Linked DNA regions of Homo sapiens: region 2 is linked to region 1. Evidence: promoter capture Hi-C in 16 types of primary human blood cells and fetal thymus (Javierre and others, 2016). All regions are on one chromosome and are shown on one strand. Each heading gives the region's core, a stretch centred on a gene start or on the middle of the fragment in contact. The rest is flanking DNA. Distances are from core to core; before and after follow the strand shown.

What was found. The method cuts DNA at HindIII sites, captures the fragments that hold promoters and counts their contacts. A CHiCAGO score of 5 or more calls a contact.
Region 2: a fragment that was not itself captured here is called in contact with the fragment with the promoter of POFUT2 in region 1 in 5 of 17 cell types (non-activated CD4 T cells, M2 macrophages, activated CD4 T cells and 2 more); the score reaches 6.0 in non-activated CD4 T cells.

The regions. Positions count from the first base shown.
Region 1 is chr21:45,284,298-45,290,180 of GRCh38, forward strand. POFUT2 (protein O-fucosyltransferase 2) reads right to left here and starts at 3,598. Exons shown (of 9, transcript NM_133635.6): 1 at 3,444-3,598; 2 at 1,381-1,631. The coding sequence starts at 3,574. It overlaps LINC00205 (long intergenic non-protein coding RNA 205), which reads left to right and starts at 3,755. Exons shown (of 3, transcript NR_026943.1): 1 at 3,755-3,947; 2 at 5,054-5,141. RefSeq lists a silencer at 3,525-4,054 and an enhancer at 4,209-4,939. The HindIII fragment of the contact is 9,019 bases long and covers 1-5,726 here.
Region 2 is chr21:45,592,316-45,598,198 of GRCh38, forward strand. LINC01694 (long intergenic non-protein coding RNA 1694) reads left to right here and starts at 1,339. Exons shown (of 2, transcript NR_146912.1): 1 at 1,339-1,393; 2 at 4,076-5,883. The region is part of intron 1 of LOC107985485 (a long non-coding RNA gene); the gene reads right to left. RefSeq lists an enhancer at 3,394-3,895 and a silencer at 4,440-4,734. The HindIII fragment of the contact is 5,607 bases long and covers 297-5,883 here.

The DNA.
Region 1 (5,883 bases), core at 2,348-4,847:
ATGACTGGGGGCTAAGGGCTGCGTGGCCTAAGGGCCTGAGGCCACAGCTGCGGGGGCTTCTTTTAGGCTAGTGGGAGGTGGTGAAGATCCTGCACGCTGGGCGCTATGTCAGCCACATCAGGAGCTCACCGTGTGCAGTCTCTTGGCAGCCTCGCCCTAGGACAGGCACCCAGTTCCTTCCCCACCTCACAGGCGAGGAAACAGCTCAGCAAAGCCCCAGGCTGGTGGATGGCAGGTAAGCGTGAGACCAGCATATGTGCCTCAGAAGCTCATTACACAGCATCTGTCTTCCCAGACCTTCCCAAGCACTTGGATGCCCAAGGCCCAGACCTGTCCGCTTCCCTGTCAGGAAACCCACTGGTACCAAAGGGAGGTAAGGATAGCATCTCTGGGTTCCTATAACCCAATGTTCAGACCGAGGGCTGGCTGCTAGTTAGACCCAATACCCAACCACAGCTTTCATCTTCCAGGACTCACAAGCAAATTTTAAAGTCAACTCAGGAAAGGACGCACTCCAGGAATGCTTTTTACAAGCAGCAGACTTTCTGACTTGGTATCAACAAGGATGTTGGAGGTTACCGCCTGTTGTTGCATGCCCCTAGCACTCACAAGACTGACCTTGACACAGAAAACATTTCAGAGTGACAAGATCTAGGGTGCAACGAGAACCACATCCTTGAAAAATGATGACACGGGAGCCACACTCCTTGGCAGGGAGCAAAGGTCTCTAAGCCCCGAGAGTGGCTGTCGAGTAAGAACTCAACAGATGCTGGAAAGCAGGAGCCTGACTCAAAACTAACTCATTCGTCTTCAAGGCCTCTCAAGTGCAGCAGCAAAGCATCACTTACCTTTATCTCTTCCAAACAACGCAACACAAAAAGCTCTAAATACCTTCATTCTAAGAAGAGCTTTAATTCTTCTCTTAAAATTAACTGAAAAGATTAAGCAACACAAAATTAAACGAGACAGACCTTTATCCCTGGCGCTGCACTGAGACACCACGAAGCATACTCCACACGCAGTGCGTCTTCCTGAACGTAAAACAGCCTTTCGCACAGGGAGCCGAGTCCTGTCACTATAACACCCAGGGGTGGCCGCTTTCTTAGGGTGTAAGGGCGGCTCTAACTGAGGGGGCACAAAGCTCATCCACTTCAGGTCCATTTCCGAGAAACATTTTGGGAAGCTCACTGCAGCGTGGGAAAGGGACTGTGCTCCTGAACGGAGGAGGTGCTGCCACAGGCCTCAGGCAGCAGCACTGGGCACTGGAGGATGCTGGTGAGGCTGGATGCAATCGTAAGCCCAACCTGATGTCTACCTTAGAAATGACTGCCTGGCCCCAGTTAAGCAACCACGGCCTCCCAGCGTGCCGCTCGGCCTCACCTGCGATGAACTGCTCATACTCGATGACGGGGATGTTTTTATTGAGACTTGGAAGATCAAAAAACTCAGACCAGGGAATCCGGACCTGGTGGATGTCAGGACTCTGCCAGTGATAGAGGCGGCCCCATGGAGGCAGGACAAGCACCCACTCCTCCGTCTTCAGCAGAGTCTTCAGGAGAGAGGCGATTCGGATATAGACATCCCTGCGCAGGTTGAAGCCTTCCGGGGGGTTGACGTCATACAGAAGATACCTGAGCAGGGAGAAGGAGGACCACAGGTCTCAAATGCTGAGGTTTCTGCACGGAAAACCCGACTGCTCACAAGTCTCAGCGCGTGGCCCGACTCTAGGCACTTAACAATGGTTCCTAGTTTGTGAAGGCAGTGAGTGGCCTGTTTCTCTATGACCAGTTACTTACGGAGCCTGTAAGCAGAAGCAGCAGACATGCTAACATCGTTTTAACAATTAGCAATAGTTCAACACTAAGGCAGAGGAATCCCAGTGACTGGAACCCAAGAATCAGTACCCACATGGTTCTCAAACTGTTTGGTTTAAAGACCCCTTTACACTGGAAACAATGACTGACGGCTGGTTATGTGCACTATGTCTATTGATACGTCCTATGTTAGACGTTAAAGCTACAAGTATTTAATTCAGCTAAAAATAAGAAGCCATTACATGTTAACAAAAACCACATATTTAAATAAAAAATAAGTGTATTTTAAAAAATGAATTAGAAGAACTGTGATGATGTTCTTAATTTTTGCAAATCTCTTTTGGGTTTGGTGACAGCTGGATTCCCATACCCGTTTCTGCATTCAATCTGTTGTGACATCACAGATCAAGTGGTTTCTAGGAAAACTCCACAGTGCATTCATGAGAAGTGAAAAAGGCGTATAATACTCTGGTACTACTATTAAAACGGCTACAAAAGCTCAGAGATCCAGGACACACTTTAAGATCACTGCCCTAGAGGAAGGACACAAAGCGCCCCAAGGCACAGACAAGTCCCCAAGGCACAGACAAGTCCCCAAGGGCTACAGAAACCCTGTCCCTGGCGCTCTCCTTTCCCTGCTCTGCGCTGGTTTTCCATACTCCCATCGTCGCGAGTGAAGCTGCGTGCAGCGCCCAGGCCTGCGAACGCCACGAGGGGCCGTGCACACCTCTGCGTCCAGGCCCCTCCCGGGGTCCGCTTGGAGATCCCACAGCCACAGGGCGGCCGCGAAGCTCGTCTTGGCCCTGAGAATTCACTGCGGAGCGCCCGCCCGGCACTGACTCCCGGCTCCGCACACCCAGGCCTGGACCCGTGTCACTTGCAGGGGCCTCCGGAGCCAGCCCACGCTCAGCCTGAGCAACCCGGCCCCCTTCCTGGGCTCCCGAGGCTGCGCCCCGGGCCTCGCAGACGACCCCGCCTGCAGACCCGGGCCGCAGTGACGCAGCCTCGACTACAGCCAACCCGCTGGCCCGACCCTGCCCCCAGCCCCCGCCCCATCCCATCCCCCAGACTCCAGCCCGGCCCCGGCCCCTGCCCCTGCCCCTGCCCCTGTCCCGTCCCCGTCCCATCCTTCTTGGCCCCGGCTCCCGCCCCGCCCCCATCCCATCCCTCGGGCCCCCGTTCCTGCCCCCATCCCATCCCACCCCTCCTGGCCCTAGCCCCTGCCCCGCCCCCATCCCATCCCATCACCCTGGCCCCTGCCCCGCCCCCATCCCATCCCATCGCCCTGATCCCTGCCCCGCCCCCATCCCATCCCTCCTGGCCCCTGCCCCCTGCCCCTATACCATCACCCTGGCCCCTTACTCCGCCACATTCCTTGCCCCAGAACCCTGACCCCATCCCATTCCCCTGACCCCTGCCCCCTGACCCCGCTCCATCCCATCCCCCTGGCCCCTGCCCCATAACTCCGCTCCATTCCATCTCCCTGGCCCCGGACCACCCTCCATCCCGTGGGCCTGCCCCTGACCCCATCCCATCTCCCTGGCCCCTGACCCCGCCCCGCCCCCATCCCATCCTCTGACCCTGCCCGGTCCTGGAACCCCAGCGTTGGCACCGTGGACGCGCGTTTACCGTCTGCGGGAAGCCGCCCCCGACAGAATATCGGCCGCCGATTGTCCGGGCCAGAACTCCTGGCCGGAGGCAGAAGCCGGAGGCCAGGACACTGCCCCCAGCAGCAGGAAGACGAAGCTGAGTGTCGCCATGGCCCCGGGCGGCCACGCACTTCCGGCGGCCGCGCCCCGCCCCGGAACCACGCCCCGCCCCCGTGAAATGCGTTCCCAGTAGCCACGGCAACGCCCAGCTCCGCCCTCCCCGCGCATGCGTTATGCGCCATCACCGGCAAGCAGGGGCGGGAGGGGGAACTGCGCGTGCGCAGAGTCTCCGCCCTCCTGACCGCAGCGGCTAGAGGTTCCATTGCAGACCCGGAGGCCGTGGCTGTGGTTCGCGGCGGTGCTGTCGCGGGCGCCCTGGCGCAGCCCACGCAGGGGCTCCTGAGGGTCCGCGAGGCCGGGAGGTCCGGGGGTCGGGAGGTCCCGGGGTCGGGAAGTCGGTGGACCCTGCAGGCCAGTGGGGAGGGTACGCGAGACTGGGGGCCGGGAGGGCTGACGGCTGGTGGCGCGGGGCGGGTCCGTGGGGAGGAGGCCCGGGGCTGGTAGGGGCGGGAGGGCTGGACGGCGGGGGCGGGGCGGAGGAGGGGGTCCGTAGACGGGGTCGGCGCCGGGTGCTCTCGCCCCTCTGGAGCTGGGGTCGGGGCGGGAGCCGCGCATGAGAGCCTGGGTTTCTAGTCGGGGGGCGCCGTCGAGCTCCACACCTGCGGCCTCCTGGGTGCCCCCAACCCTGGAGCCCCGGCGAGGGGGCACCCGGGCTGAGGCCTGGCCCTCCAAGGAGCCCTGGAGGGACTGTGCTGCTAGGGCGCGGGGCTCGATGGGGTGATCTGGAGACCTGGGGGGATCCGGGGCTGCCGCCCCTGCGCTGCCAACCTCCCACCCCGCCCCTTCTGCGAGGCGTTATTAAAGGTCTGGTTTCGGGAGCCAGGTGCGTGCCCGCCGCCGCCGCTCCCCGCAGCCTCCAGGCAGCTCCCGCTGTTCCCCGAGGGCACCAGCACTGGCCGACCGACCTGGCTTGGGGCGCGGCGCTGGCAAACCCGGCCTTCTGAGGGGACGCCACGCTGACTCTAGTGCAGGCAGCCCCCAAAACGGTATAATTGGACGAATTTCTTGAAGGATGCCAGTTACCAAAAAAGAAAATACTAATGCTTATTATCTGTTAAATTTGAGATCAATTTGTTATCAAATTTTCTCACACAGAAAATTCCAGGCCCAGAGGGCCAAGCTGGTGAATCCTACTTAGAGAAGAAATAATAGGAATCCAGCCACTCAGACGATGGACGAGGAGGGGCACTTCCCTGCTCGATGTATGGGCCAGCATTGCCTTGATAGCAAAGTCAGACATCACCAGACAGTAGAACCACAGACCAATGTCTTTCATGAACCAAGACACAGCATTTAAAAAAATTAGCAAATGGAATTTATATCTGCCTATTGTTTACAAAAAAAGCCAAACTTTGTAAAATACTTGAAGAGATTTATTCTGAGCCAAATATGACCCATGACACAGCCTCAGGACGTCCTGAGAACTTGGCCCAAGGCGGTTGTTTTACTGCTTGGTTTTATTCATTTCAGGGAGACATAAGACATCAGTCAGTACATGTGAGGTGTGCATTGGATTGATCCAGAAAGTCAGGACGACTCCAAGTGGAAAGGCCTCCAGGTAATAGGTGGATTCAAAGATGTTTCTGATTGGCAGTTGGTTGAAAGAAGTTACTATCTGAAGGCTTGGAATCAATAGAAAGGAGTGTCTGGGTTAAGAGAAGGGGCTGTGGAGACCGAGGTCCTTATTATGTGGATGAAATCTCATAGGTGTCCGCCCTCAGAGGCAATACATGGCAAATGTTTCCTATTCAGACCTTCAAAAGGCACTAGACTCTCAGCCAGTCTCCTCAGGATCAGAAAAAGAGCTGGAAAGGGAAGGGGAGTCTACAGAATATGAATTTCCCCACAAGACACCGCTTTGCGGGGCCATTTCAAAATTTGTCAAAGAGATATATTTTGGGGTAAAATACATTGATACTTTGAGGGCCTGTTGTCACGTGATGCTATACCAGCGTCAGATTGGAACTTGGTGTCTTGCTGCTATGGAGTCTGCTGTCAGTCTGGTCAGCTGCACCTGAACTCCAAAGGGAGGTGGGTATAATGAGCCATGTCCAATCCCCGTCCCTTCCTGGCCTGAGCTCATTTTTCAGGTTCTTCAGAATCCCCCTGGTGGAGATGAGGGATCCATTCAGTGGGTTGGGGAAGCTTAGAGTTTTATTTTTGATTTACACTATGTGAAGCAGAAATTAAAATACTGTAACCCTGATAGGGTTATTTTAAAGCTGCAGGAATCAAGGCAGGTTGCCGTGGGTAAGAGGATAGACAGGCAGGTCATGTAGCAGGACGAGCTGCGGACAAAA
Region 2 (5,883 bases), core at 1,850-4,349, 310 kb after region 1:
CCCTAGAGCAGCATGTGCCCAGTGACCTAAAACTGTAATAACATTTACATGTGGCCCCCCCACACTGGGCTTTTCTTAATGAATTATGGGTAAAAATATGCACAGTTTAATTTTAGCTGTGTCACCATAAGCTGCCAAATGACATCAGCCTGTCACTCAGCCCAAACCTCAGCTACTTCTCACACCCCACAGAAGCACCTTGAGCTCTGTAACCAGGTGCTGATGTCACTTCTCAGAAATCAGCCTGCACACCCTCTGAGACAGTATTACTGGAAATTTCAATCAACCTTGTTTTAAGCTTACATTTTGGTGTTTGCAGTTCTTTGCTCACTGTCACAAGAACCCAGATTGCTGGTTCAGAGCTCTGGCTCTGTGGATCTTGTCGGTTAAAAAATCCATCCGAACACAGAATTCTCGGTAACACACACACAATACACCAGGTGGACATACAACACACACATGCACAAGGATGTTCACGATGACAGTGCTTGAAATAGAGGAAAACAATGCGTCCACATTTCCGTCAGTCAACCGTGGCCCGCCTATGGCCACCCGTCCATAGGGTCTGGATGAGGTCAAACGGGGGCCCCGTCAACAGCACAAGAAAATCATCAGCCAATTTTGCTTGGGAACAAGGGTGCAAAAATCTAAACTTACAGAAATCACTACACAAATCTGACAGTGATTTAAAGATAACACCCGGTGATCAGATAGGAGTGCAGGAGTGCAGAGCGGGCTGACAGGGAAACCTGCGCCTGTTGAGGCAGGAAAATTGGGTCTGGAGGCAGGGAGCATAAGGCAGTTCACACTTCAGCTACCACAGGAAATATCCTCTCCATAGGGCATGGGCCAAGTAAATGACTTTGTAACTTCACTTCATCCTCTCCAGTTACATAGGGTGTACCCCCAAGAAGCCCCATGGCGCCATCACTCCACGGCCCCATCACCCCACGGCCCCGTCGCCCCACGGCCTCGTCGCCCCACAGCCCCGTCGCCCCACGGTCCCATCACCCCATGGCCCCGTCATTTCAGCACTGGCGGCTGCTCTGCCCTGGGATGCGCCTGTCACGTGCAGTGATTTAAACATCAGTGAGGTGATTGATTCAAATACTGCGTACTCTTGCTAGTATTTTCCTTGCATGCTGATATGGTTTGGCTGTGTCCCCACCTAAATCCCAACTTGAATTGTATCTCCCAGAATTCCCACGTGTTGTGGGAGGGACCCAGGGGGAGGTAATTGAATCACGGGGACCGGTCTTTCCTGTGCTATTCTCGCCAGAGTGAATAAATCTCACGAGATCTGATGGGCCTATCAGGGGTTTCTGCTTTTGCTTCTTCCTCATTTTCTCTTGCTGCCGCCATGATTCTGAGGCCTCCCCAGCCATGTGGAACTGTAAGTCCAATTAAACCTTTTTTTCTTCCCAATCTCGGGTATGTCTTTGTCAGCGGCATGAAAAGGGACTAATACACATGCTTTATTGGTGACCAGGAGATGTTTTAAATTTTTCTATATGATTGTGGATTTCTCTTCTTCTTTCTTGGACTCTGCAACTTTGTTTTCTGTAGTTTGAGGCTGGCATCTTCCCGTGGGCTGGGCCCCATGCCACCAGCTGACCCTGGTCTGCTGAGCTCCTTGCCCGTGGTTCCTCTGCTTGGTGTTAATGCAGCCACCCCAGCTTTCCAGACCTCCCTTTCCATTTATCTTTCTGTGGCCTTACATTGAGGGTGTGTCTCCTGCAGGATCCAGTGTATCTTTATCTTTGAATTGAACTTTCTGGTTCTTTTGTTTTGATTCCATTATCTGCGTTTGAATTCTGGCATTATGAATTGTTTTCTGTTTTTCCTACTTGTTCCCTGTTCCTTCTTCTCCTCGTGGCTTCGATTATTTTTTATTCCATGTTTATCCTCTCTTAGCCTGCCAGTTATGAATTACTGTTCATTCAGTAGTTATCCATGTTAAAGTCCAGTGTAAATTCTTCCTGCTATCTCTTACCAGACCACCAAAGATTTACATCACCCCTTTATTCCATCCCACCCTTTGTTCTGTTGTTCTTATGTATTTTAACTCTACTTGCATGTCAAACTCTGGAAATCACTATTGTTATTATTTTCTTTTTCATTTTTTCGGGTCTTGCTCTGTCACCCAGGCTGGAGTGCAGTGGCACCGTCACAGGTCACTGCAGTCTCCAACTCCCAGGCTCTACCAATCCTCCCACCTCAGCCTCCCCAGTAGCCAGTACTACAGGCATACACAACCATGCAGTCTAATTTTTTAAAATTTTTGGTAGAGACAGCGTCTTGCTGTGTTGCCCAGGCTGGTCTCAAACTCCTGGGCTCAAGTGATCCTCCTGCCTCTGCCTCCTAAAGTGCTGAAATTGCAGGTGTGAGCCCCCGTGCCGGACACATTATCATTATTTTCTACCATGTATGCGTCTCTTTATTCACTTCCCTTTCCCGGGTCTGCGTTCCTTCCTTTATCCCCAAGCTCCCACCCCACCCTGGGGGGTCATTTCCTTTCCACCCTAAGAGCCCCTCATCATGGGTGCCGGTCTCTGGGTGGTCACTCCCCGGCCCGTCCGGGGTCACCTCCCTCCCACTCCCCTGCCTGCCTGGGGCCACCTCCCTCCACTCCACTGCTCATCCAGGGTCACCTTCCTCCACTCCCTTGCCTGCCTGGGGTCACCTCCCTCCCACTCCCCTGCCTGCCTGGGGTCACCTCCCTCCCACTCCCCTGCCTGCCTGGGGCCACCTCCCTCCACTCCTCTGCAGCTTCTCTGCATTGCTTCTTCTCCTTCACCTTTTTTGGTTGATTTTCATCTTGTACCCTTGGCATTTTTGGTTGAGTGACAGATGTTCATAGGACAGGTCTCAGGCCACCAGTGGTGCCGTCTCCAGGGAGCCGAGTGGCGCTCGCTCCTGTGGTCACCCAGGGAGGGAGGCCCTTGTGACCCAACTGCAGACTCTGGGAGGGTGGGGTCAGGCTGATTCCCCTTCAGGGTTCCCACCAACAGCTGAGGGGCTTCTCGGGGCCCCTTTGTTTCCTTTGGCCCCATGAGTGCTGAGAGCTGAGTCCGGCTCCCATGGCTCAGCTCAGCTTTTGCTTCCCCAGTTATTGGTCAGCCCGGATCCACGCCGCCCCAAGCATCAGCCCATCATCCTTACTTTCCCCGTCTTTCAGACCTTGGCCCCCAAAATTGTCACTGCTTTAGGAGTTCTTCATTGATTTCGAACAGACATTTTAAGATAGTTTTTTCTAGCTTGTGTTGTGTTTTTAATGGGAGAGTTGGTCAGCGTCTGCTGGAACAGAGCTACGCCTATGGAACCGTAGACTTGTTCGTGCTTTATTGTAAGTTTCAGTCGCTCCTGTGTGCATGTGTGCATGTGCCTGGTGTGTGTGTCTTTGCATGTGTGTGCTCACATCTACATGTGCGTCTGCACATGTGCATCTGTGCATGTGTCCGTCTGTCTGCATGTATCTGTGCATGTGTGTGCACATGTGCATGTGTGTGATCTGAGGCATCTTCCCATGACTGCTGCTTTCTGCTCCAGTTGCTCCTGGCTGAGCATCAGTGCAGCATCAGTGCACCCCCTCAGCACCTGGACACCACTCCAGAGACTTCTGAGCAGAGGCTGACAGCGCAGGGGGGCTTACTAGCTGCCTTTCATGCTGGCCGTGGTGGGTGAGCTGTCCAGCTCTCCTCTCCCAGATCTTCCAGGGGCCAGCAGGCTTCCACTAACCACAGGGCCTGGGGGCACTTCAGTCTACCAGGGCAGATGCTTGCCAGGCCCATGGGGACCAGCAGGCTCCCGCAGGCCCTCCCAAAGCCACATGCAGCAGTGCGGCTGGCAAGCCCCACTTGGGGGAGACCCTGCTGTTGCCGGCCAGGCCTGTGGGACAAGTACAGTCTGACATCTTTGCCGATGGCCTGGAGATGAGCACCCCCTGCTCTCTCCTCGATGTTGCAGCAGAACCCACGCGTAGAGAGGGTTGGGGCGAGCAGTCCAGGCAGACCCCCGGGATTTTCCTGCCGTATTGCACAAGCATTCATGCGTTCATTTAATCTTGCTTTTTTAGGCAATACTTTAAAGACACAAAGTCTCAACAACCATCTTCCGCTTGACGAGACAGATCATTCTAATTTGAGCAGAAGCTACTATGTCCTGCCCTTTGAACGCGGCGGCCCGGACAGCTGACAAGGACACACTGTGTATTTCCATTCCAATTCTGGGAGTGCTCTGAGGCCTCTGGGGGAGAAGGACCCATGAAATATTCAAAACATAAGTGAATAAAATATCTAGGTGCTAGATATGGGCCAGGAAGAGCCCTCGGCCCTGCAAAGTGTGTGTGATGGTGAGAAGCTACCGGAAGAGATGGTCCCTGTGCTTGGTTCATTCCTTGGACATTTATCAAGCTGACGAATGTAGCAGAGGTGCTTCAGTCGGCTGTAATTCCACGGGTGGAGTGCTGGCTGGAGAGTTACCTGGGGCTGTCACACTGCATGGGCTCCGGGACACTGTGGCTGCCCTTATGTGGTGTCCCCGGAGGGCCCTGCAGGTGTCACACCGCTGCTCCACACTGCCACCTGCTGTCAGCATCTGTGCAACGTATCCAGGTCTCTGGGGGCTAGAATGAAAAACATGCATCTCGTAACCAATGAAATCGGGCTTGTCCTGAAGACCTCGTGCATTCATCCATTCTCACACTGCTATAAAGACATACCTAAGACTGGGCACTTCATGAAGAAAAGAGGTTTAATTGGCTCACGGTTCTGCAGGCTTTACAGGAAGCATAGCAGCTTCCACTTCTAGGGAGGCCTCAGGAAACTTATAGTCATGGTGGAAGGTGAAGGCGGGACAAGGCGTCTCACATGGGAGCAGTAGAGAGAGAAAAAGAGGGGGTGCCGCACACTTTGAAACAACCAGATCTAACGATAACTCACTATCATGAGAACAGCACCAAGAAGCTGGCGCTAACCCACTTGTGAAGGACCACCACCATGATCCAATCCCTTCCCACCAGGTCCCACTTCCAACGTTGGGGATTACACTTCACGGTGAGATTTGTGCAGAGAGGACACAGGTCCAAACCATATCACCTGCTGTCTTTTTATTTATTTATTTATTTATTTATTTATTGAGACAGAGTTGCTTCGTCACCCAGGCTGGAGTGCAGTGGCGTGATCTCGGCTCACTGCAAGCTCCGCCTCCCGGGTTCGCACCATTCTCCTGCCTCAGCCTCCCGAGTAGCTGGGACAACAGGCGCCTGCCACCACACCCAGCTAATTTTTTGTATTTTTAGTAGAGACGGGGTTTCACCATGTTAGCCAGGATGGTCTCCATCTCCTGACCTCGTGATCCGCCCGCCTCGGCCTTCCAAAGTGCTGGGATTACAGACATGAGCCACTGCGCCTGGCCTATTGATTTATTTTTGAGATGGGGTTTCGCTCTTGTGGCCCAGGCTGGAGTGCAATGGCACGATCTCGGCTCACTGCAACCTCCGCCTCCCAAGTTCAAGTGATTCTCCTGTCTCAGTCTCCCAAGTAGCTGGGATTACAGGCATGCGCCACCATGCCCAGCTAATTTTGTATTTTTAGTAGAGACAGGGTTTCTCCATGTTGTTCAGGCTGGTCTCGAGCTCCCGACCTTAGGTGATCCACCCGCCTCAGCCTCCCAAAGTGCTGGGATTACAGGTGTGAGCCACTGCGCCTTGCCCACCTGCTGTCTTTTTGCATCTTCCAAGTAGACATCAAAGATTGGTTTGCTATCAGTGTCACTTCTATAATCCGTGGTTCTATATGAAGAAAACAAAATCCCAATTGGGGAAAATGAACCCATGGCATTTTGTTTCTTACTCTGGAGCCGTTTCTGGCAGTTTGCCAGCAA